Linked DNA regions of Homo sapiens: all the other regions are linked to region 3. The links are contacts of gene promoters, found by promoter capture Hi-C in blood cells and fetal thymus (Javierre and others, 2016). All regions are on one chromosome and are shown on one strand. Each heading gives the region's core, a stretch centred on a gene start or on the middle of the fragment in contact. The rest is flanking DNA. Distances are from core to core; before and after follow the strand shown.

The links. Contacts are between HindIII fragments. The CHiCAGO score rates a contact against its expected background, and 5 or more counts as called.
Region 1: a contact is called between a fragment that was not itself captured here and the fragment with the promoter of CA13 in region 3, in 2 of 17 cell types (naive B cells and total B cells). The highest score is 7.8, in naive B cells.
Region 2: a fragment that was not itself captured here is called in contact with the fragment with the promoter of CA13 in region 3 in 1 of 17 cell types (neutrophils); the score reaches 5.9 in neutrophils.
Region 4: a fragment that was not itself captured here is called in contact with the fragment with the promoter of CA13 in region 3 in 7 of 17 cell types (total B cells, M2 macrophages, naive CD8 T cells and 4 more); the score reaches 6.1 in total B cells.

Annotation. Positions count from the first base shown.
Region 1 is chr8:86,520,902-86,526,451 of GRCh38, reverse strand. All of the region lies in intron 2 of CPNE3 (copine 3), which reads right to left. Among named protein-coding and RNA genes, the nearest start is that of CPNE3, 9.2 kb to the right of the region's middle. RefSeq lists enhancers at 2,995-3,044, 3,065-3,164. The HindIII fragment of the contact is 1,670 bases long and covers 3,447-5,116 here.
Region 2 is chr8:86,535,336-86,541,033 of GRCh38, reverse strand. It overlaps CPNE3 (copine 3), which reads right to left. Exons shown (of 17, transcript NM_003909.5): 7 at 3,388-3,471; 8 at 700-789. Among named protein-coding and RNA genes, the nearest start is that of CPNE3, 24 kb to the right of the region's middle. The HindIII fragment of the contact is 3,099 bases long and covers 221-3,319 here.
Region 3 is chr8:85,242,022-85,248,343 of GRCh38, reverse strand. It overlaps CA13 (carbonic anhydrase 13), which reads right to left and starts at 2,886. Exons shown (of 7, transcript NM_198584.3): 1 at 2,479-2,886. The coding sequence starts at 2,515. LOC105375936 (a long non-coding RNA gene) reads left to right here and starts at 4,859. Exons shown (of 3, transcript XR_929126.3): 1 at 4,859-4,999. RefSeq lists an enhancer at 2,082-2,191 and a silencer at 2,552-2,631. The HindIII fragment of the contact is 11,713 bases long and covers 998-6,322 here.
Region 4 is chr8:86,371,555-86,377,363 of GRCh38, reverse strand. WWP1 (WW domain containing E3 ubiquitin protein ligase 1) reads right to left here. Exons shown (of 25, transcript NM_007013.4): 3 at 3,244-3,334. The coding sequence starts at 3,313. Among named protein-coding and RNA genes, the nearest start is that of WWP1-AS1, 30 kb to the right of the region's middle. The HindIII fragment of the contact is 215 bases long and covers 1,215-1,429 here.

The DNA of each region.
Region 1 (5,550 bases), core at 3,032-5,531, 1.3 Mb before region 3:
CATTTTATTATCATTTTATCACTATCTGCCTCTAGGGTCTGATCCTATCTTATCTATCCCATGTTTCATATTTTTTTATTATTCCATTCCATGATTATCCTGATTATTCCAATCCATACTAAGGTGTTCCTTTGAATTCCTATTGCACTAATAGTAACAGATTACTGCATTACAGGAACAAGATCAAATTTGGGGTAATGCACACACCCAATTTTTTTTTTTTTGAGACGGAGTCTTGCTCTGTCGTCCAGGCTGTACTGCAGTGGCGCGATCTCAGCTCACTGTAGCCTCCGCCTCCCAGGTTCAAGCAATTCTCTGCCTCAGCCTCCCAAGTAGCTGGGATTTCAGGTGCCCGCCACCGCCCGGTTGAACCCTCCATCTGGCACTTGCTGTGTGACCACGTATAAGTAACTTCAACTTCCTGGGCCTAGATTTCCTCATCAGTAAAAATGGAGATAATGCAAGTAAATTTGTAAATCTGGCACGTGCCAGGCATACTGTTTTTTTGCATCTAATACAGAATCTGTAAAATAAATGTGAGTTGTATGATTTTTTTTTGCATAAGGTAGTTTAGAGTCTTGTAAGTTGTATGTCAGCAATATCAAGCATAATGCAGTGCCCTGTGGATGAACATAGAATGAGCAACAATAGCTAAAGCTTCCCCCAAAAAAACATGTAGAGGATTCTCTACCAGCCAGCAGAAAAGTCTTCAAATTTCCAAGGATGGGAAGAATTCAACAGAGAATGAAGACATCTACATGTGAAGTCAGTCTCACAGCAAAGAGACACCACATATCAGAAGAGCATTATTTTTTTCCCTAAAAATGCTTATACAAAAGCTACAAAAACAACATGCCAGGCACAGCTGATTATTTAACCAATTGCTGACAGTTATACTACTGCATTGCTGCCAGGAAACAAATTTCTTCTATTAGCAGCATTCCTCTCTGAAAAATGACTCTGTGCTGGTCTCAATGTTATCCTGAAACCCATTATGGCTGAATGGCAAATGGAAGAAATTACATAAACACTAGGGTCTGGAATCTTGTTAATGGTAATATTCATGAAGATACTGTTTTCATTTCCTTTTAATGTAATTATCCAGTACATGATATACAATTTTTTAAGAGAGCAATAGTATACTTTATCCACAAATCATAATGGGAGCTGGGCATATTGGCTCATACTTGTAATCCCAGCACTTTGGGAGGCTGAGGCAGTAGGATTGCTTGAGCCCAGGAGTTCAAGACCAGCCTGAGCAACAGAGACCTCATCTCTACAAAAACAAAAAATTTTAGGCTGGGCGCAGTGGCTCACACCTGTAATCCCAGCATTTCGGGAGGCCGAGGCAGGTGGATTATCCCAGGTCAGGAGTTTGAGACCAGCCTGGCCAACCTGGTGAAACCCCGTCTCTACTAAAAACACAAAAATTAGCCAGGCATGGTGGTACATGCCTGTAATCCCAGCTACTCAGGAGGCTGAGGCAGGAGAATCACTTGAACCTCAGAGGCGGAGGTTTCGGTCAGTGAGATCACGCCATTGCATTCCAACCTGGGCGACAGAGCAAGACTCCGTCTAAAAAAGAAAGAAAGAAAGAAAGAAAAATGAAAAAATTAGCCAGCCAAGGTGGCATGCACCTGTAGTCCCAGCTACTCAGTAGGCTAAGGCAGGAGGCTCACTCAAGTTCAGGAGTTCGAGGCCACAGTAAGCTATGCACTGCAGCCTGGGTGACAGAGCAAGACCCTGTCGCAAAAAAAAAAAAAAAAAAAATTATGATGAGGAAAAATAAAACAAACGTTTTATACTCTTTTAGTATGAAAGATTTGGCTGGGATAAGTCACCTGGCAAAGAATGCATGAGCAACTAAAGAAGAATTCTATGTAGTATTTTACTCCTTAAAGAGCAGGATAGAAAACACAAATAATCCCTAGGATTAGACAACAGCTTCCCTACTGTACAGATTATTACTTGTTGGACAAAATTTGATCCAAACACGTCTTCTGAAATGCAAATAATCCCTAGAAACACCAAATATATCAATAATTCTCCCAGTCACCCTAACGTTCTGAATCAATATTATAACAGAGATAAACATAAGGAGCTGAGAATTAAGACCTAATATTTAAAGTGGTACCTGATATGTGAAATTTAAGGCATCTGGTCATTCCCATGCCCTGGCTGAAAATCCTGAAGTCTTATCTACTTCCTCTTTTCCCATTCCTCCTTAAACCTACTCTTAGATTTATCCAGTAAAGATGTCATAGAGATTCTGCCTACTAGAACCCCAAATCTCTCCCAAACATGGAGATACAGCCGCTTTCCCATACCCAGAGTCACAACCCTAACTTCAGGTCTTCTGTATCTCTCACCTGCCTTATATAATAGTCTCCTAATGGGTATTCCCACTGCCATTTTCTCTCCATTCACATTATGGTTTTATCACTTCTGATTAAAAAGTGATAGTCCAATGAACTAAGCCTGGAATTCATGGCTCTGCCAACATCTACCCCTAATCTACCTGAACAGCTACCTCTGCCCACCCAAGTTCTTCAAGATCCACTTCAGGCCGGGCACGGTGGCTCACACCTGTAATCCCAGCACTTTGGGTGGGCGAGGTAGGGGGATCACTTGAGGTCAGGAGTTCAAGAACTCAGCCTGGCCAACATGGTGAAACCCTGTCTCTACTAAATATACAGAAATTAGCCAGGTGTGGTGGCAGGTGCCTGTAATCCCAGCTACTCGGGAGGCTGAGGCAGGAGAATCACTTGAACCAAGGAGGTGAAGGTTGCAGTGAGCCGAGATGGTACCACTGCACTCCAGCCTGGGCGACAGAGTGAGACTCTATCTCAAAACAAAACAAAACAAACACTTCAAATGATACTTCATTCATACAGCTGTTGCTGATACCCTGCTGATACCCCTCATGCTGTTATGGCACTGATTCTATTTTCTTTCCACTATTGTTACTTGTATTTGTGGCTCATCACTCCGTCTATATACTGTGAACTGTGGGCAGCGAACATATTTTACCACTTCCTCTTCTTCCTGAAGCATGACATCTGGCACAGGTTATTTGTAGCAGAAAGAGCAATAATGCTGGAGTCAGCGTGTGTCATTCAAATTTCTTTCCCATCACTAATTTGGATGTGTCACCTCTGCCAAATTGTCTATCTGAACTTCAATTTCCTAATTTATAAAATGGGGATATTAAAAAACCCTGACACTAGTCCTTCAATGTAAATAAGGCTAAGAGAGAAAAATAAACTTAATAAAAACCCTGACAACTGTAGGTCTGTAGCATGCTCAGCATATAATAGACACTCTATGAATTGTAGCAATTATTTTATTACTGAGTCAGGGATTTTAATTGATTGTCTCAGCATAGATGGCTTGTTATTAAGTAGTAAGACATAAAGCAGCTTTCTCATCCTTACTTATGAAAAGCTTCTTGAAACAATAATGATTTTTGGGATTTACATAAAATTAATTTGGTGAAATAGTCAGCCTTGAGTATAGATAAGGTACGCAGGTGAGGGGAGCGCAGGCTCATGTCAGTGACTCAAAATGTGTCCTAAAACAATTGTGAAGGAGAAGTCGGTGCCTATCTACAAATCCCTTTAGTAAAGTTCCTTCAGTCTTCAGCTGAAAAATGAAGAGACTGGCCTAATGTAAAAAATTCTCAGAAGTTCTTTCTGGTTCTAATACCATGATTCACTAACTGCTATTCTGCAGTACATCCTGCCTGACCGCTATTGAAAGCAAGCAAGGGCAACCCTGGGGCAGCTGGAACCGGCCCAGCAACATCAGCAAAACACACCCTAGGCAGTGTTTCTCAAATTGTGTTGCTCAGAATAGTAATAAGTGTTCCCCTACTAAAAAAAAAAAAAAAAAAAAAAAAAAAAAGCAGCGGGCGTCAGGTAATATGGCTGTAAATCCAAAGGCTGCTATGCTCCTCAGAGTTCCCAGGTCAGACTAGCAAATGTATTTATTACCAGGTTACTGTAAACCCATTATTTTGCTAAGGACAGCAGGGACATTATACAGCAACAGAAGCGCTTGTAGCTCATTATAATCAAATTGGGGAGACCCATTCATAAAACAATTACTTACTGAATACTTTCTAGGTGTTCCAAAAGTGAGGGTTGGGGGAGGCAAAAACGAAATAAATACTTAGCTACTTAGCTAACTATGTATACATAGAAATAGTATACAAGAGTATAAAATTGTGTGGTACAGACAGGGAACAATCAAAGTGCTCTTGGAGCTGAAGAAGCTCCCCAGAGATTTCTACTTTTACTGACGATTAAAACTATACTCCACTACAAAAAGAATTTGCAGTATTATTGCTACTGACTACCAGATTTCTTTTTCACCCTTACATTCAAGGGTAGACAGTAAGAAAGTGGGGAGTAGAAGAATAAGGGGAAAGAAAAGATAGTTAATAATTCCATACAACTGGACAGATTTTGTTTTTTTTTACAATTTTCAAAGTGCTTCCAAATAATATATTATCTTCTGAACCTTACAAAAACTCTGTGAGTTAGGCAGGATAATGATTACTACATGGTGGAAGGTCCATATGTCACAGGTATGACTATAATATAAGGCACTCCAGTGTCTGAATTGATTGACCCAGAATATGTTGATAATTTTCAGCACATTGTTAATCTTCAAAATAATGCATAGTATATATTAGGAAAAAAATATAAATTTCTTCAAAAAGGTTAAATTACTTACATGGGATCACAAAGCTAGTAAGTGTCACCACCACAGCATAAACCCAGGTATTTTCCCCTTTATGCCAAAATCCCTTCAGAGCACTAAAGCCTCTAATTAATAGTTAATTAGCTGTCAAGTAAAAATAGTATTAGTAAAAATAAATAAACTCCATAGATGTAAACAATTATGATTTTTCAATTAAAAACAATATCAAAAAATAGTTACTTAGTATAACAGCAATATTCTCTATTAATTTCCTTAAGTCTTGTTAATATCAAAAGTAATATTCAGCCTGACACAAATTAATAAAATAGGAACTTTAAAATTACAAGGTTAATACTGAGGCTAAAACTAGTTATATGGTTCTTAAACAAACGTAACCAGAATAACAAAAGCTTGCCAAAGAATGGAAGAACTGGAATGGTTTATATTTTATTTACCTCATAGCAGTTCCTCTTCAAGATAACCCATTAAATTGTAAATTACTTAAGGCTAAGAAAGCAAGTTCTCCTTGCTAGTGTGTCTCTACACACACAGGTCTGCCATGTGTGTAGGTGCCATTAGATCGTCTTAGAGCAGCAACATTTATTCTCAGGAATATACTGCACTTAATATCCAGACTCTGAGAGTAAAAAACTCACATTAAAAGAATTTAAACTACGCTTGTTCTGTATTTAGTAACAAAGTGATGCCCAGATGTATTTTTTTAATCACTACCACAGGATACCAGAAATGAAGATAGGGAATAATGTCAAGCATAAATATACATAAAACAAAACAAAAAAGAAACAAAAAGGAAGAATCACTGGATCAGGTGTCAAAAGAAATGGA
Region 2 (5,698 bases), core at 521-3,020, 1.3 Mb before region 3:
GTAAAGTTAATAATTCTAGTACAAAAGTTTCTTTTATGTATATGTATGTATATATTTTTCATTCTCAACACCACTCCATGAGTTTTCTTTTATTTATATTTTTACTCTTTTTTTAAATAAATGCCTATGAATAAAAACATTTAAAAAAATACTGACATCTGCTATTTGCTGTTCATACTCCACTTCCCTGATACTCTAAAACTAAAGCCTTCTAAAAGCTTTCAATTAATTACTTATCTCATTCTGAAAATAAGGAAGAAAAATGCCATCAATACTGCCCTCCCTTGCTAAGGGCAGAAGCAAGCTCTGAGTTCTTACGGTAACATCTGCTTCTATCTGCAACAGACATACCAAAGGCAAATAATGTAGTTCGAGGTTCCTATTAGCAGAGCAGAGGAATCTTATTAAAAGGAAAAAAATATTAAACTGGACATTTTATTTTTTAAAATACAGAATAAAATAGAAACGACACTGTTTGACTAAGCATTAGGTCAACAGATTAGTCAAACATGCCTACTCCTCAAACTGTGTCACTTACCAGAAGACATTTCTATTTTAGTATTCTACACACATAAAATTTAACTCTGTAGGTGTCTTACATCATTTACTTTCTTTAAATACTATCTTATGTATTAATTTTATAAAATAGGTGAACATGGGTATATTTAAGTATTTTATATATATATAATTTCAACTTACCTTAATGGTTTTGTCCATATCTCCGTAACACAGTGAGTTAAGAGAGATCTTGAAAGGCCTCCAAACAGGATTCAAGTTGTTTTTAACAACCTATAAAAATGTGGTTTCAAAAAGCTGTTAGAAAAACTTCCAGTTCATTAACATTTTGCTCCTGCCCTTCCTAGGTTCTTGCTATACTCTCACCATTCGTCCTCCACCTCTTCATCAACTCAACTATTTCCACAAAAAAACTACCTAGAACAATATTATACAACTGCTACATGAAAAATGTAATAAATTGTCCAGTTGTGATACATTCTGAGGAAAAGTAGAAAACTATTTGGAAAATATATCTACCTATTACAAGGAGCACTTAGGAACTACAGAGGATGGCTGGGCGCGGTGGCTCACACCTGTAATCCCCACACTTTGGGAGGCCGAGACGGGCAGATCATCTGAGGTCAGGAGTTTGAGACCAGCCTGGCCAACATGGTGAAAACCTGTCTCTACTAAAAAAATACAAAAATTAGCTGGGTGTGGTGGTGCATGCCTATAATCCTAGCTACTCAGGAGGCTGAGGCAGGAGAACTGCTGGAACCTGGGAGGTGGAGGTTGCCGTGAGTGGAGATCGTGCCACTGCATTCCAGCCTGGGTGACAGAGCAAGACAACGTCTCAAAAAAAAAAAAAAAAAAAACTGCGGAGGATTATTGATTTTAATAGCAATGAGGGTTTCATTGCAGGGCACAGAAGATTCAAATATGAAATAAGAAAAGGTAAATATAGAATAAGAAACTATGTTGGAATTGAATTGGAGAAATAAGTCCACATTTATAATTTAAAATTTTAATACCATATATACATACATAATAAACAGATAAACACAAATATACATATTTCTTAGCTGTGTCCACTTAAAAGGCATAAAACAATGATATCCAGTAGCAATGAGCACATTCAGCACTCAGATGTCAGTGTCTAAATACTACTACCCTCTTGCAGGAATAGGGCTTATTAAGAGACATGGCTCATACCAGCTCTGGGACAGAAAAAGTACAAGGGGAACTGAGAACATACTCTAACTTAAGAGACTGCTCAAAGATGAATGAAGTCAAAAAGAAAAACCAAGAGCCATTTTAGAGACTACGAGCTCTCTCTAGTCAAACATGGATGAATCTGAGCAGCAAAAATACAATAATGAGTTAAATACAAAGCATACACTGTTATAACAATCCATGAATTTATAATGATACTAAAAATAAAAGCAGAGAAAGAGAGAGATGAAAGAGGAATGCCTGCTAATATAACTAAAAAGGATGAAAGATTTTGAAAAATCACTATTTTACTACCCATAATACAATAATTGATTAGGCAAGGATCACCAATGGATGCTAAAACCACTGGTTGAAGTGCTAGAGAACATGTAATTCATGCAGTCTCATAGTTTCACACCACATAGCACTTATTAATTAAAAAGGGGAAAAATGAGACCTTATCATGGTGAGATCTGGCGGTCACCAGCTTAACCAAGTAGCCAAGCATGACATCATCAATGCTGGGCAGCCTGGCACCATGAGCCTCCTGAAAATGTAAAGAAAAGGAACACACATAGTGTTTTTGACAGAAATGTTTGATCTGGATCTAGTTGTGAGGAAACAGAAGAATCCAGAATGTTGGACATTCTGGTCTTGATTTTCAAGAGATTCAATGGCATCAAGGTATAAGGAAGGTAGGGAGAAGAGTCCTCTATTGGGAATATAATAGTCAAATCCAAAATTTGAGCCTTGACTGGATTCTGAACAAAACAAAGCAAAACAAAATACACACAAAACCTGTGGGACAACTGAGGAAATCTGAAGATTAATGGTATACCAAATAATGTTACATTTAGCTATGTCAAATGTTAATTTCTCAAGTATTATTGTATAGAATGTCCCTGTTCTTTAAACTACCTGCTGTAGCATTTATTTATTTATTTATTTTGAGGTGGAGTCTCGCTCAGTAGCCTGGGATGGAGTGCAGTGGTGCGATCTCAGCTCACTGCAACCTCCACCTCCTGGGTTCAAGCAATTCTTGTGCCTCAGTTTCCTGAGTAGCTGGGACTGCAGGCAAGTGCTACCACACCTGGCTAATTTTTGTATTTTTAGTAGAGACGGGGTTTCACCATGTTGGCCAGGCTGGTCTCGAGCTCCTGACCTCAAGTGATCCACCTGCCTTGGCTTCCCAAAGTGCTGGGATTACAGGCATGAGCCACCACACTTGGTCTGCTGTAGCATTTAAAGATAAGAGTTATTATATCTGTAGCTCCATTAGGATGATTTTGCAAAAGGAAAATACATGTGTGCATAAGTGTGTGTGTGTGTGTGTGTGAGAGAGAGAGAGAGAGAGAGACAGAGAGGGACAGAGATAGAGAAAGACAGAGAGCACAAGTATGTGGGAGTGTGTGTTCATTTGGTGAATCTAGGTGAGGGGTGCAGAGGAATACATTTAGTGTTCTTTATAGGACTTAAAATTTTTCAAAATAAAAATCATAAAGTACGGTAGCACCTCCTCATTGAAAGAAAAAAATATGAACATGGTGATCTTGTGTCTCTGGCTATATGTAAGTATGAACTCAGATTGATACTTTTATAAATATAAGCTTTTTAAAATTCAGATTACAATAATTTCAAAGAACACCTCCACTCTGCTTTTCAAATTCAAATATTCACCTCTGTCCGATGAACCATTAGCCAGTTTCCATCAGATGTCTGCTTGTGGAATTCCAGGTATGGGTCTGACTTTCCAAATAGATCCTACATTTAAAACAAACAACAAAAAGCATTTGTTCTCCTCTGAACCCATGAAACCATGTGTGACCATACTTTACACATGTTGGCAACCACCTGAAGTCTAACTCTATAGTATTGATAGTAAATATACATCCCATCACCTTTCTCCCTAACTTAGAAACTTACGGAAGTCTACTAGGGAGAATTATCAAAGTGCTTGTGATAAATGCTCATAATCCTGTATATCATACCCTGACTTCTCAAAAACATGACAGTTTTAAAATACAGTGGTCAAATATACCATAAAATATGTTTTTGCCTTGTTTTCACCTTTAACCATTTTCATTCACATATCACTGAGTAGTTTTATATAAATGATATCACAAACATTAGCCATACCAACTCTATGGAGACAGGGCAGTTATCAGTGAGAAAATGGATTCAGAGGGGTAAATGATTTTCCCAAGATCACATATCTAATTAATTAATGGATCCAGGCTTTAACTTCATATCTCAGCCTTCTATGTCCAAAACTCCTTCATCAAAACCACACATTTCTTTACATACACAAATGACCAGAGGTAGATATGTGGAACACATAATAGAAACACTTCAAGGGCACAAACTACATCTTCTATTTCTCCTGTAATTCACCACAGAACTCCTATACAATGCTCAAGCACACTAAATGCTCAAAAATACCGTTATCACCATCCTCAATACACACATAACCACACACATACAGAGAGATAAAATTCAGGAAAAATGTACGAATCACTCACAGAGGTTAAACTCAGGTGGTAAGACTATGGATGATTTTTTCTCATTTTCATGTATCTTCATTTTGAAATGTGCATACTCGTTAACATTTATGACTTGTTATTTTTGAAAATGAAAGGACATTTGTTAATCCCACAGGAATATATGCAGATACATCCCTGAGCTGAAGATTTCTTTAGTCCTGAATTAACTTCAGTATTAAATTAAGAACTAAAATAAAATTATTTCTCTCTTGAACACAAAGTTTAATGTCAAGCAAATAAGATATTTGGTACAGTCAAAAATATAAACACAAAGACTGTGTTTAACCTTATCTCTAAGAAGAATCTTAAGTGAATGAAATAAAAGCAGAATATCCTTGTTATTATTTTGAAGGCTAAAAACCAATACTTGTTTGAAGGTTAAGTTGCTAGTATTAGAACTAAAACAATAATTAAACTCCCTGGCTCTGATCTCCAGGATATGTTAAGTAAAAGAAGCAAAGTGGAGGAAAGTGTACATCTAGTATGCTATGTTTATGCAAGGGCTGGGGGTGGGGAACATAAATACAAATACATACATACACACATACATATGAACACATACACACACATGAGTATACATACACACAGAAAAACCCTTAGATATTTAGGAAACAGAATGATTAAATTATAAAACACAACTTTTTAAAAATTATTATCTACATGGAGGAAAGCGGAAGCAAGGTAGACCAGGAGAGATGTTAAATTTCTTAAGTACCTTGTTTTGTAGATTTTAGAGCCATGTAAATTTTTTACGTGATTATAAAACAAAATTAAATCAAAATGGTTTTTTAAAAAAGCAATCCCTAAATATCAAAAGCAAAATGAAAGTAGGTCTGTGACAGCATAACCACACAAAGGAATTATTTCTTTAAATCATAAGAATGTGACTATGTAACAAAAGTGGAATATACACACCTTAAAGACAAAAAGAACTTCAAAGAAAGCTCAAACTTTTCAGTAAAAATACTGTTAATAATATTGATATTTTTATTCTAAAACTATTAACGTTGTGTGAGACAAAACAGATAAGCAATTGTGTTAATATATTTAAAAACCAAGAGAAATGAGGTATGAATATAAAATAAGTGCCTGTAATTCTATATTTTTTTTAATTATCTCTGTTGTTTTGGAGACGTCACCCAGGCTGGAGTGTAGTGGTACGATCCCGGCTCACTGTAACCTCCCCCTCCTGGGTTCAAGCAATTCTCATGCCTCATCCTCTTGAGTAGTTGGGACTACAGGTGCATGCTACCATGACCGGCTAATTTTTGTATTTTTACTAGACACAGGGTTTCACCATGTTGGCCAGGCTGGTCTTGAACTCCTGACCTCAAGTGTTCCACCCACCTCCCAGAGTGCTGGGATTACAGGCGTGAGCCATCATGGCCGGCCAGTAATTCTATATTTGAATTGGAAATAGTTGTGTAATTTCATGATTTAGTTTTTCT
Region 3 (6,322 bases), core at 1,637-4,136:
CTGGGATTACAGGCACGCACCACCACGCCCAGCTAATTTTGTATTTTTAGTAGAAACGAGATTTCTCCATGTTGGTCAGTCTGGTCTTGAACTCCCGATCTCAGGTGATCCACCCACCTTGGCCTCCCAAAGTGCTGGGATTACAGGCATGAGCCACCGTGCCCAGCCAGCATAATTCTTAATTAGAGATATGTGGTGGTTGCTCAACTGATTTAGGAACTTTTAAATACCTACAGTGATATACACTTTTCAGTGATGTCACATTCGCTAAACTAAACTAATAAAGTAGTCAAAGGTTAGGGGAAGAATCCTAAGTTATTTGTGAAGGCAGTACCCTTTCAGGGCTTCAAGTCTTGATGTTTTATTTTATCAGTGTTGCTATTCCCAGCTTAAGTTTCCTTTTATCTGCTCAGTCACTGGTTTACCAATGTTTAAACAGAAAAAAAAAAAAAAACAAAAAACTTGCCTAGTTAGGCCCAGAGCTGTGGCTCATGCCTGTAATTCCAGTACTTTGGGAGGCCAAGGCAGGCAGATCACTTGAGGTCTGGAGTTCTAGACCAGCCTGGCCAACATGACGAAACCTTGTCTCTACTAAAAATACAAAAATTAGCCAGGCATGGTGGCTCATGCCTATAATCCCAGCTACTTGGTGGGGCTGAGGCTGGAGAATCGCTTGAACCCAGGAGAGGGAGATGGCAGTGAGCCAAGATAGTGCCACTGCACTCCAGCCTGGGCAACAGAGCAAGACTCATCTCAAAAACAACAAACAAACAAACAAAAAACTTGCCTAGTTAGTATATAATACATTTCCAATAGGATTTTCCCAATCTTTCTCTGAAGACCACACCTTTAAGTAAGGATGTGGTCTTCAGAGAGAGATCGCATCTAAAAGAAAGGAATGGCTAATTCCTAACAGAACAATTCCTAACAGAAATACAAAATCACTCCTTATTAATGGCTTTGCTAAGATGAATTTTTAAAATTGCTGAAATAAGCTTCATTCAGGTGAATAATTTCTAACCTACTAAAGAGTAATCAATATCCATTGATTGATTGATTGAAATACCCTTCTTCTTCCTAACTACCATAAAGGCGCAGTTGGGATTCAATGACTATTAAATAACTCCAATAAAAACGACTTCAGCAGAGAGGGAAATGAAAAAAGATTTGTCATATTTTCCCCCTAAACATTCACTGGAAATTAGCAAAATGTAAGATTATAATTATGGCCTTAATCAAGAAGAAATCTGACTATACACCTTTTATTATTAAAGTTATAAATTTCACCTGCTGCCATTTTTAAACTAGCATGTTTAAAAACAGGCTACAATTAGAAATTAAACAGGCTACAATTAGAAATAGAATTTTTCTGTTAGTTTGTGAAATTAAACTTTCTATAAAATTTGACCATTCTATACTGTTTAATCATGTACATGCTAATAGAAGGAAAGCATTATTATTCACAGCCTTAATTTTTTTCTTTATTATGTATTTACTTCTTAAATTGACAAAAATTGTATATATTTATGTGTACAACATGATGTTTTGAAATATATGCACATTGAGGAATGGCTAAACTAAGCCTTAATTTTGACAGTTATTCACTATAAGGCTTTTTGGTGTCACTGCGATTATTTCAAATAATTATTATTTAAACAATCAGTTCAGTTTAACGTAGGAACAAGAAAAAATGTTTTACTTTTGATAATGTGTGATATACAAGAAGAAAAGTGTATGTCATTATTATTTATCCTATTAATACATTTCTATCAATGAATTATAATTTCAGTAATCCTTTGCTCACCCTGCAAGGATGAGCGTGGAGAAGAAGAGTGGAGAAGTAACCCACAATGTAACTTAATTTCCCAGCGAGAACCTGAACCCTTACTAAAGTCCCCAGTAGTAGTCAGCCAACTGCAAATTGCTGTGGGAATATTTACAGTAACAACTATTAGGAAACATGCAGTATTTTGTTTGCCACGAAGCCAACTTAATCTTCAGTGTCACAATGCAAGTTAAGATTTCCTAAATATATTTTTAAAGATTTTCTATGATTTGTTTCTCCTAAGTGAATAGTGAGCTTAAAAGACTGAAAGCGAACTTGTCCTTATTTCACTGAAGTGTGTCATCAGACTTCTGATCTCCAAGCCTGTAATTGATACGTGGCTGTTACTAGGCAAAGTCCTTGGCTTTTCAGATGAAGGTGAACTCACACGTATGAACACTTGGGAGTTTGGGGAATCCTGACAGAGATAACACACACCAACGCTCACATCCACCACCAACAACCCGTCTACCCTGACAAGACTGCTCTCCGCTTCTCGCACTGGGCTCCCAGGAGTGCTGCTTAGTTTAAAGAGGAACCGAAAAAGTTTCTCAATGTGCGAGCCCAGTGTGTGGTCAGCGAGCGCCGGGGCGTCGCGCTAGTCCTCTCGTCCCCCGCACAAACCCCCCCTTGGATCAGGAAAAGGCGCTCACCGTTGTGCTCGCGGTATCCCCAGCTGAGCCTCGACATGGTCCCTCGGGGTGGAAGGAAGAGAAAGATGTGACTGAGCAGCGAGAAAGAGGAGGGAGCGGGGAGGGGCCCGGGAAGGAGCCTGCTAGGGCGGGACCGCGGGGCGCCGGCGGCAGGAGTGCGAGACCGTGAACCCGGTCCGGGGCGCTCCCGCCTGCGTCCTCCAGACGGCAGAGGCGTGCGGGGAAGGCGCCCGCGCCGCTGGCTGACTCCTGGGGCGCGAGTCTCTCTTAGTTTGGACTCGGGAATGAGAGATTTGAGTTAGAGGGAGAGACGGAGAGAGAAAGGTTTCCGGGGGGGATCTCCTGCCTTCTGAGGAGTCGTCACTCGGGAGAGGAAAGTGTTGCCTAGAGGACTTCCAGGAAGTGAATGAGTCACCAGAGCCTGGAACTGCCAGGCTGGGAGGTGGGGATCCCGGTGGAGGCGTAAAAGAGGTCGGTGATGGTCGTGGCAGTGATGATTACAAATACAAAACAATAATGACGATGGTAATCACCACCACTGAAAAATAACTACTTATTAAGGGCTTATCGTGGGCGAGGGTCTTAGCTAAGACGTGTACCCACGTTTTCCCATTAGATCCTCTCAGCATTTCCTCGAGAAACACGTGGCTTAAGTTAGAGACACTATGTAACCTGCCCCGGGTCGCTCAGCTAAAGCGGGCGGGGTCGCTGTTAGAGAGGACCAGCTCCCGGTCCTGGGCTGGCTCCATTGCCCATTCATCCTTTCCTTACCTCTTCTCACTCTGCAGGCTTGTGGCTTGGTGAGTGAGGAAACCAAAACCAGTTGTTGAGATTTGGTCCCAAAATTCTGCTGCCCTCCTGACCCCGCAAGAAGGGTTTTCAGGACATCTGCCCTGGATTCTTGGTGGGCTTGTTACCCTAGGACTGGAGTCAGAACTAGCTGCAGAGTCTTGAATTTCTGGCCTGGAGTCGTGAATGTTCTGGGTTCAAAGTGAAAAATAAAAATTGGGTACATGAACCACTTTCTACGTCCTTGTCTCGGGTCAACTGCCTCATATTTTATAAATCCAAGCAACCTCTTTGTAAGGAACCTAGTAAACCAATTTTCAGTAACTCGGATGATTTGGTATGTCAAGATGAATAATGCTCTTAACGTTCTAAGTAAGTATCAGTTCTTGACACCCAATAATAGTGGTTACATGAATGGATGAATGACTGAATAGACCAAAATTGTTAAAGAAATTTTGGTTGGTGGGTCTCAAATACTTCCCAAATTGTTACTTTTATTGCTTGGGTACACAGTTTGTAACCACCCAATGGGTTTACCTTGCCCACTGTCAAGACACAGCTGATTTATCAAGACAGGGGAATTGCAATTCATAAAGGGAAATTCACGTAGAGCCGGCTGTGCAGAGGACTGGAGTTTTATTATTACACAAATCAGTCTCCGCAAGCATTGGGGATCAAAGTTTTTAAGGACAATTTGGTGGGTGGAGGAGAGCCAGTAAGTCGGGAGACCTGGTTGTTTGGGTCAGAGGTGAAATCATAGGGAGTCAAAGCTGTCTTGCATTAAGTCAGTTCCTGGGTGGGGGCCATGGGATCAGATGAGCCAGTTTATCGAGCTGAGTGGTGCCTGCTGATCCATCCAGTGCAGGGTCTGCAACATATCTGAAGCACTGGTCTTAGGCTTTACAATAGTGATGTTATTCCCAGGAGCAATTTGGGGAGGGTCAGAATCATACAGCCTCCAGCTGTATGACTCCTAAACCATAATTTCTAATCTTTTGGCTAATTTGTTAGTCCTGCAAAGGCGGTCCAGTCCCCAGGAAAGAAGGTTTGTTTTGGGAAAGGGCTGTTATTGTCTTTGTTCTAAACTATAAACTATGTTCCTCCTCAAAGTTAGTTCAGCCTATGCCTAAGAATGAGTAAGGACAGCTTAGAAGTTAGAAATAAGATAGAGTTGGTTAGGTCCAATCTCTTTCACTGTTTCAATTATAATTTTGCAGTAGTGGTTTCAAGTTCCTTCTTGTTTAAATTCATAGCGCAGTCTATATAATTTTCTAAAACAGCAACCTAAGTATTGGCAACAATCAAATTACCTTTCATAGGAAACTAGTTAGGTCATCTGTAGAGCATCCATCATTCAATGGACTTATATATATATATATTTTTTTCAGATGGAATTTCGCTCTTGTTGCCCACGCTGGAGTGCAATGGTGCGATCTCGGCTCACTGCAACCTCCACCTCCCAGGTTCAAGCAATTCTCCTGCCTCAGCCTCCAGAGTAGCTGGGATTACAAGCATGCATTACTAGTGGCTAATTTTTGTATTTTTAGTAGAGATGGGGTTTCACCATGTTGGCCAGGCTGGTCTCCAACTTCTGACCTCAGGTGATCCACCCGCCTCGGCCTCCCAAAGTGCTGGGATTACAGATGTGAGCCACTGCGCCCAGCTGCCATTCAATGGACTATTGTCCATTTATAAAAAGAATGAAGATCTCCATGAGCAGAGCAGATATAAAGTGAGTCCTGGGATGTATTGAGGTTGCGGGAGCGGGGGAAGCAAAGGAGCAAAAGAGTGTATATAATAGACTGCATGTTTAAGAAAAAAATAGAAATAAGAAACTGCACACATATTTTCAGATTTTTACCAAAAAAGTAGAGAAAAAGCCATAAATTAATAAAAATAGTTCCTTATAGAGGATGAGTGTGAATGGGGTGGAAGTGTCAGAGGCAATGGAACCACAGCAACTCCATTCAAATCTTATTATATGCTAATTATAATGCATTCACATGCTAAAAGACACTCCCACCAGCCCCAGGACAGTTTACAAATACCATGACAACATTTGGAAATTACCCTATATGATCTAAAAGTGGGAGGAGACCTCAGTTCTAGGAAATTCCCACCCTTTTCCCAGAAAACTCATGAATAATCCACCCCTTGTTTAGCATGTAATCAAGAAATAACCATAAAAAGTAGACAACCAGTTGCCCTTAGGGCAACTCTGTCTATGGAGTAGCCATTCTTTTGTTTCTTTTTTTTTTGAGATGGAGTCTCTCTCTGTCGCCCAGGCTGGAGAGCAGTGGCACGATCTCAGCTCACTGCAACCTCCACCTCCTAGGTTCAAGTGATTTTTCTGCCTCAGCTTCCTGAGTAGCCGGGACTATAGGCGCCCACCACCACGCCCGGCTAATTTTTGTATTTTTAGAAGAGACGGGATTTCACCATGTTGGTCAGGCTGGTCTCGAACTCCTGACCTCGTGATCTGCCCACCTCGGCCTCCCAAAATGCTGGGATTACAGGCGTGAGCCACCGCACCGGCCCCTTTTTTTCTTTACTTCTCTAATAAACCTGCCTTTACTTTACTCTGTGGACTCAACCCAAATTCTTTCTTGCATGAGATTCAAGAACCCTCTCTTGGGGTCTGGACTGGGACCTCTTTCCAATAACAGAGGGAGAGGGATAAGTGAAACTTCTCAGTGTATCTTTTTGACTTTTAATCATAAATGTCGTAAATTAACTTTAGCCTAAAGCTGCCTCCTTACATATTTTAGTCCAGCTTAAAGTTTTCTGTGTATATAGTGAACTCTAACCTAACTAGATGTGTAAATAGACTGTAGCCCACTCTTGTGCCAATCACTGAATGTTGGCCAATCAAAGGCAGCCAACTGTTCAAACCCTGTTCAACTGAGGTAAACTTTGAGCTGTAACCAAACCAGCTGTTTCTGTACCTGACTTCCATTTTCTGTCCATCACTTTCCTTTCTCTGTCCATCAATCTAACCACACAGAAGGGCCAGAGTCTCTCTGAACCTATTCTGATTGGAGACATTGCCCAATTT
Region 4 (5,809 bases), core at 73-2,572, 1.1 Mb before region 3:
CACTCTGGGAGGCCGAGGCAGGCGGATCACCTGTGGTCAGGAGTTCGAGACCAGCCTGGCCAACACGGTGAAACCCCGTATCTACTGAAAATACAAAAAAAAAAAAAAAAATTAGACAGGAATGCTGGCATGCACCTGTAATCTCAGCTATTTGGGAGGCTGATGCAGGAGAATCACTTGAACCCAGGAGGGGGAGGTTGCAGTGAGCCAAGATCACGCCACTGCACTCCAGCCTGGGCAACAGAGCAAGACTCCATTTCAAAAAAAAGAAAAAATCAATACAGAGGTCTTTGTAATCTAATAAAAGGAGCAACAACTTGGAGTCCTAAGACCTCAGTTGGTTTCTCATTATTAACCCAAGGCACTTAATCCCTCTGATTCTCAGTGTCCTCACTGACAAATCAGGAGTAGTAATCTTTATTGCAGAAGTTATTGTGAGATCAGTAAGACTGGTAATTTTAAGGTGACTTTTATTTTAAAAATTAGATCAACAAAACGGAAGACAAAGACAAGAAGAAAAGAAGGCACTAAAACCTGGTGCCATTTAGCACAGGTCCATGATCATTCTTTCCCAAAAGGATCACTGTATTTCAAAGGAGAGCAGCAACTGACGCTCAAAATGATAAATACTGTCATGGCATTGTTTTGGCTACTTAGACTGCCTTGGTCCACATCTATTTTCCAACTGGTTCTCCAGATTTGAGTCACCTGATAGTCTTTCAGTATGTTCTTTTTCACCTCAAATTAGCCAGATCAGGTTTTTCTTTTTCTTTTCTTTTTCTTTCTTTTTTTTTTGAGACAGAGCCTCACTTTATCCCCCAGGCTGGAATGCAGTGACGCCATCTCGGCTCACTGCAACCTCCACCTCCAGTGTTCAAGTGATTCTCATGCCTAAGCCTCCCAAGTAGCTGGGATTACAGGCATGTGCCACTATGCCCGGCTAATTTTTGTATTTTTAGTAGAGATGGGGTTTCACCATGTTGGCCAGGCCAGTCACAAACTCCTGGCCTCACGTGATCCACCTGCCTCGGCCTCCCAAAGTGCTGGGATTACAGGCATGAGCCACCGCGCCTGGCCTAGTTTTTTCTTATTTTACCTAAGAACTCTTATACATAGGTCAAGATCATTTGAAAGTTACACCTCAGGTGTACTGTCCATTGGTCCTACGCAAGTTACAATAAACTGAAAATGTAGTGAAAATAGGGCTCTAAGCTTCTTATACAGAGCAAAAGTAGAAGGAATTATGTAAGTGGTTCTTCAGTGGAGTACCTATCAGCTTCATCAGAACTGTTTCAAAAATAGATGCCCATTATTCACAGAAACCAAAATCCAAATATCCCTTATAGTTCAACCTTACAGTGAGAGAAATGCTATTTTAAATAACACTAAGATACCACTTCAGTGTCTAATTATGAACAATCCCAAAGCTTGACAACAGATTTTGGTTAGGCTTTGGGAAAACAGGCACTGTCATGTATAGCTGGTGTAGACACAAAATGGTGCAGACCCCATGGAGAGGAACTTGGCAATACCTGGCAAAATTACATGTGTCTACCCTTTGACCCAGCAATCTCATTCTAGGATCCTATCCTATTGATACATGAGCAGACATAAGAAACGACTTTTGTATGAAGTTATTTGTTGCAGCACTATTGGTAATAGCAAACAGTGGAACGCCAATGTCCAGCAAAAGGAGACTAGTTAGCTTTTTTACATCTATTCAACAGGATATGGCGCAATGATGAAAAAGAATATTCTGTTATGAAACAAACTCCAGAATAATACTGTAAAGTTAAAAAAAGCAAAGCACAGAGAAGTATGCAAGAATTAGGAGATTAAGAGGAGAGATGAGATACGTATACTGCACATGTATCTGCTTATATTTTCAAAAAGAAGCAACAGAAGGATAAAGCAAAACTAATAAAAATGTGAACCTACAGGGCAAGGGAGAGAAGTGGGAAAATGGGACCAAGTAGCCAGACCTCTCTAAATGTACCTTGGTTTTGACTCTGGGACTATGTAAATGTCTTACAAGGTTATAAAACAAAATTAAAAAAAAAACTGAAAACGATGAACTTAACTAATTATCAATTTGGTGATATAACCAAATAGAGAATTACTAAAGTACATTAAAACATGGTATTTTGATTATACGTCCTAAAGGGGGAAAACACACAAAGAAATCTTAAACTGCAATGAGTAGACCTATTGTTTTTGGTAATTTTTTAAATTACCTTTTTTTCACCTCCTTCTCCCTCTGTTTTTGGTAATTTTCATGTTATTTTGAACTGGTGTAGTAGGATAAAAACAGATATTATGATAATGTCATTTTGAATGGAGATTTTTTGATTAAGAGGAGAGAGTTACAGGCCAGGCACAGTGGCTCAATTTGGGAGGGTGGTGCAAAAGGATTGCTTGAAACAAAGAGTTCAAGACCAGCGTGGGCAACATAGTGAGACCCTGTCTCTAAAAAAATTTTTTTTTAAATTAGCCAGGCAAGGTGTTGAACATCTGCAGTCCCAACTACTTGGGAGGCTGAAGCACGAGGATCACTTCAGCCCAGTAGTTTGAGGCTACAAGGAGGTATGTTTGCGCCACCGTACTCCAGCCAGGGAGAGAAAGTGAGACCCTATCTCAAAAGAAAAAAAAAGATATGAATATAAAGTCAAATTAATTTAAATTTTGTTTCCTTTTAGTAGAAAATGGTACTTATAGACTACAGTTATTATTATGAATTGGAAATATCAGCATGAACTCAGGATGTTAAAATATTTTTTATTTTTTGCTTTCTACAAGAAACATTTCCTAGCTCTGTTAACTGAAACCTCCTAGAAATAACTAAATTCATATAATGAGTACCATGGGAATTACAGTACTGTGTAATCCCACTTAAATATTTGCCCAATGATTGAACAAATGGCTAAATGTATGTAAGAAGGCCTTTGGCATCCTGCTCCATCCTATTAATCATTTAAGGGCCAATGCAATGATACTTATTCAAAAGCCCAAATTCTCCCACCATTACAGAGGCTATATCTTCTCTTCATCCAGCATAGGTTCAATAAATATTTACTGAATAAATAATATAGTTTTGGAGGGCATCTACCTTTGAGGCTTGTTGCAACAAATATGCCATAGTATGAATCTAAAAGAAATTCTATTTCTGGAATAAGTCTGCTGAATTAGGTATTCAAAAGAAAAGTTCATCAGGGAATCACCATATTAAATATAAAAATAACTTACCAGTTACCTGTAACTGCAACCTTCCACTGTGGTTATTACTAGTATCAGACCTTGGTGAAGCAGTGGCCATGTCCCAAAATTCAGCTAAAACCTATTTTAAAAAAGGGGAATTTATTCATGTGTTAGATAAGAGTTTGTAATTTTCAAGATATTAAAACTACTTGTTTAAATCAACTAAGAAGTTCTCAAAAAGTACATGAAAATTATCAAGCCTATTACCATCCCATTAAAAGAAAACCCTAAAGTTAGTTGAAATAACAGAAAAAATGGTGAGTAGTAAGCAAAAATAAAAATAAACATTAGAATGTTGCCCTGGATATGCCTGCTACAGGAACAGACAAAGCACTGGGCCTGCTACAAGGGGAAGGAGTGAGATTCCCATACCAAGCAAAGGGCCCAAGTCAGTAGAAACTCCTAACATATGGCAGAAGCATATACGTATGTTTTAGGAAAGTACCCCAATTTAAGCCATTGGGAGTACCTAAGACGAAGAGCAACCAAGTCTGAGTCTATAATCTTAAAAATCAAATTTATATGAAAACAAGCCACCAGTCTGGGCAACAGAGCGAGACTCTGTCTCAACAACAACAAAAATCTCTATCCAGACAAGACAAAATAAAATTCACAGTCTACATGGGGTGGGAAGCCTCAAAATACAGTAAAAACTACAGGAAGAAATTGACAAATTGGCCATTGTTGTGGGTGATTTCAACACATCCCAATTAATCATAAGTCAAGCAGACAAAAAAAATAATAATGAACAAGCAGGATTTAATAACATCAACAGAACCTCATAACCAACTATCAGAAAATAAAAATTTTTCTCAGGTATTCATGAAACATGAGTGACAAACAAAAAAAATACACTGAAATATAATGAAAATCTCACTAAATTTCAAAAAATGTTCTAAGTTTCTGTCCGTAATACAATTAAGTTAAAAATCAGTAACAAAAGATAAATTTGAAAACTATAAATAGAATTTAAAAACACTTCTAAATATTTAGTGAATCAAAAGAAACCATGTTGGAAATTACAAAAAAAAAAAAAACAAACTAAGAACTGAAAAACAAAAATACCACATATAAAAATGTGTGGGAAAAGTTATACTTAGAGGCAAATTTATAGCCTTAAAGACATACTAGGAAAGGAAAGGTTGAAAACTGATGTGTTAGTAGGTCATCTGGTAAGTCTGAAAGAGAAAAATAGAACAAACCCAAAGAAAGGAGTTAATAAAGAGCAGAAACTAATGAAGTAGAAAGAAGGTAACAGAAAGGATCAACAAAGTCAGAGCTACTTCTTAGAAAACACTAAGATAAATAAATGTCTGATAAGACTAACGAAGGGGAAAAAAATGAAACAAAATAGGAAGCCCTAAAACAGACCAATGCATATAAGGACAAACCCACATAAAAGATGTAGCAATGCAGATCCATGAGAAAAGAGGGACACTTAAAGAAACCTGGAATTATCCATATGGAAAAAAAATGAAACTGGACCCCTACTGCACATCATATATAAAACCAATTCAAGATGGACCAATGACATAAATATGAAAGGGAAACAGTAGAACTTTTAGAATAAATTACAGCAGAAAACTATTGTTTTGTGTCCTCTCAGGATGGAAGGATTTCTTAAGAGACAGGGGCATACTAACCAAATAAGAAAAGTGTGAATATTCACTCCTGTAATCCCAGCACTTTGGCAGGCCAAGGCGGGTGGATCACCTGAGGTCAGGAGTTCAAGACCCGCCTGGCCAACACGGCGAAAACCTGTCTCTACTAAAAAAATACAAAAATTAGGCCGGGCGCGGTGGCTCACGCCTGTAATCCCAGCACTTTGGGAGGCCGAGACGGGCGGATCACGAGGTCAGGAGATCGAGACCATCCTGGGTAACACGGTGAAACCCCGTCTCTACTAAAAATACAAAAATTAGCCGGGCATGGTGGCGCGCGCCTGTAGTCCCAGCTACACGGGAGGCTGAGGCAGGAGAATGGCGTGAACCCGGGAGGCGGAGCTTGCAGTGAGTCGAGATCGCGCCACTGCACTCCAGCCTGGGCGACAGAGCGAAACTCCGTCTCAAAAAAAAAAAAAAAAAAAAAAAATACAAAAATTAGCCAGGCGTGGTGGTGGGCGCCTGCAGTCTCAGCTACTCAGGACGCTGAGGGAGGGAGAATTGCTTGAATCTGGGAGGTGGAGGCTGCAGTGAGCTGAGGTCACGTCACTACACTCCAGCCTGGGCAACAGAGCAAGACCCTGATTCAAAAAAAGAAAAAAAGGGTGAATATTTTGACTACACGGAAACTGAGACTTCTGTTCATCAGGACATCATAAAGAAAATGAAAAGATATGCCAGAAACTGGAATAAATTTGCGAAACAAAAAACTAATTAAAGATTAGTATTTAAACTACATATATAAGAATACTTACAAATAAGAAAAAGATAACACATTAGGCAAATAGGCAAAAGGCTTAACTGTAATTATACAGAAAAGGAGATTTCTAAGGCCAACAAACATGAAACAATGTTGAATCTCACTGCCCATCAGAGAAATACAAACCACACAG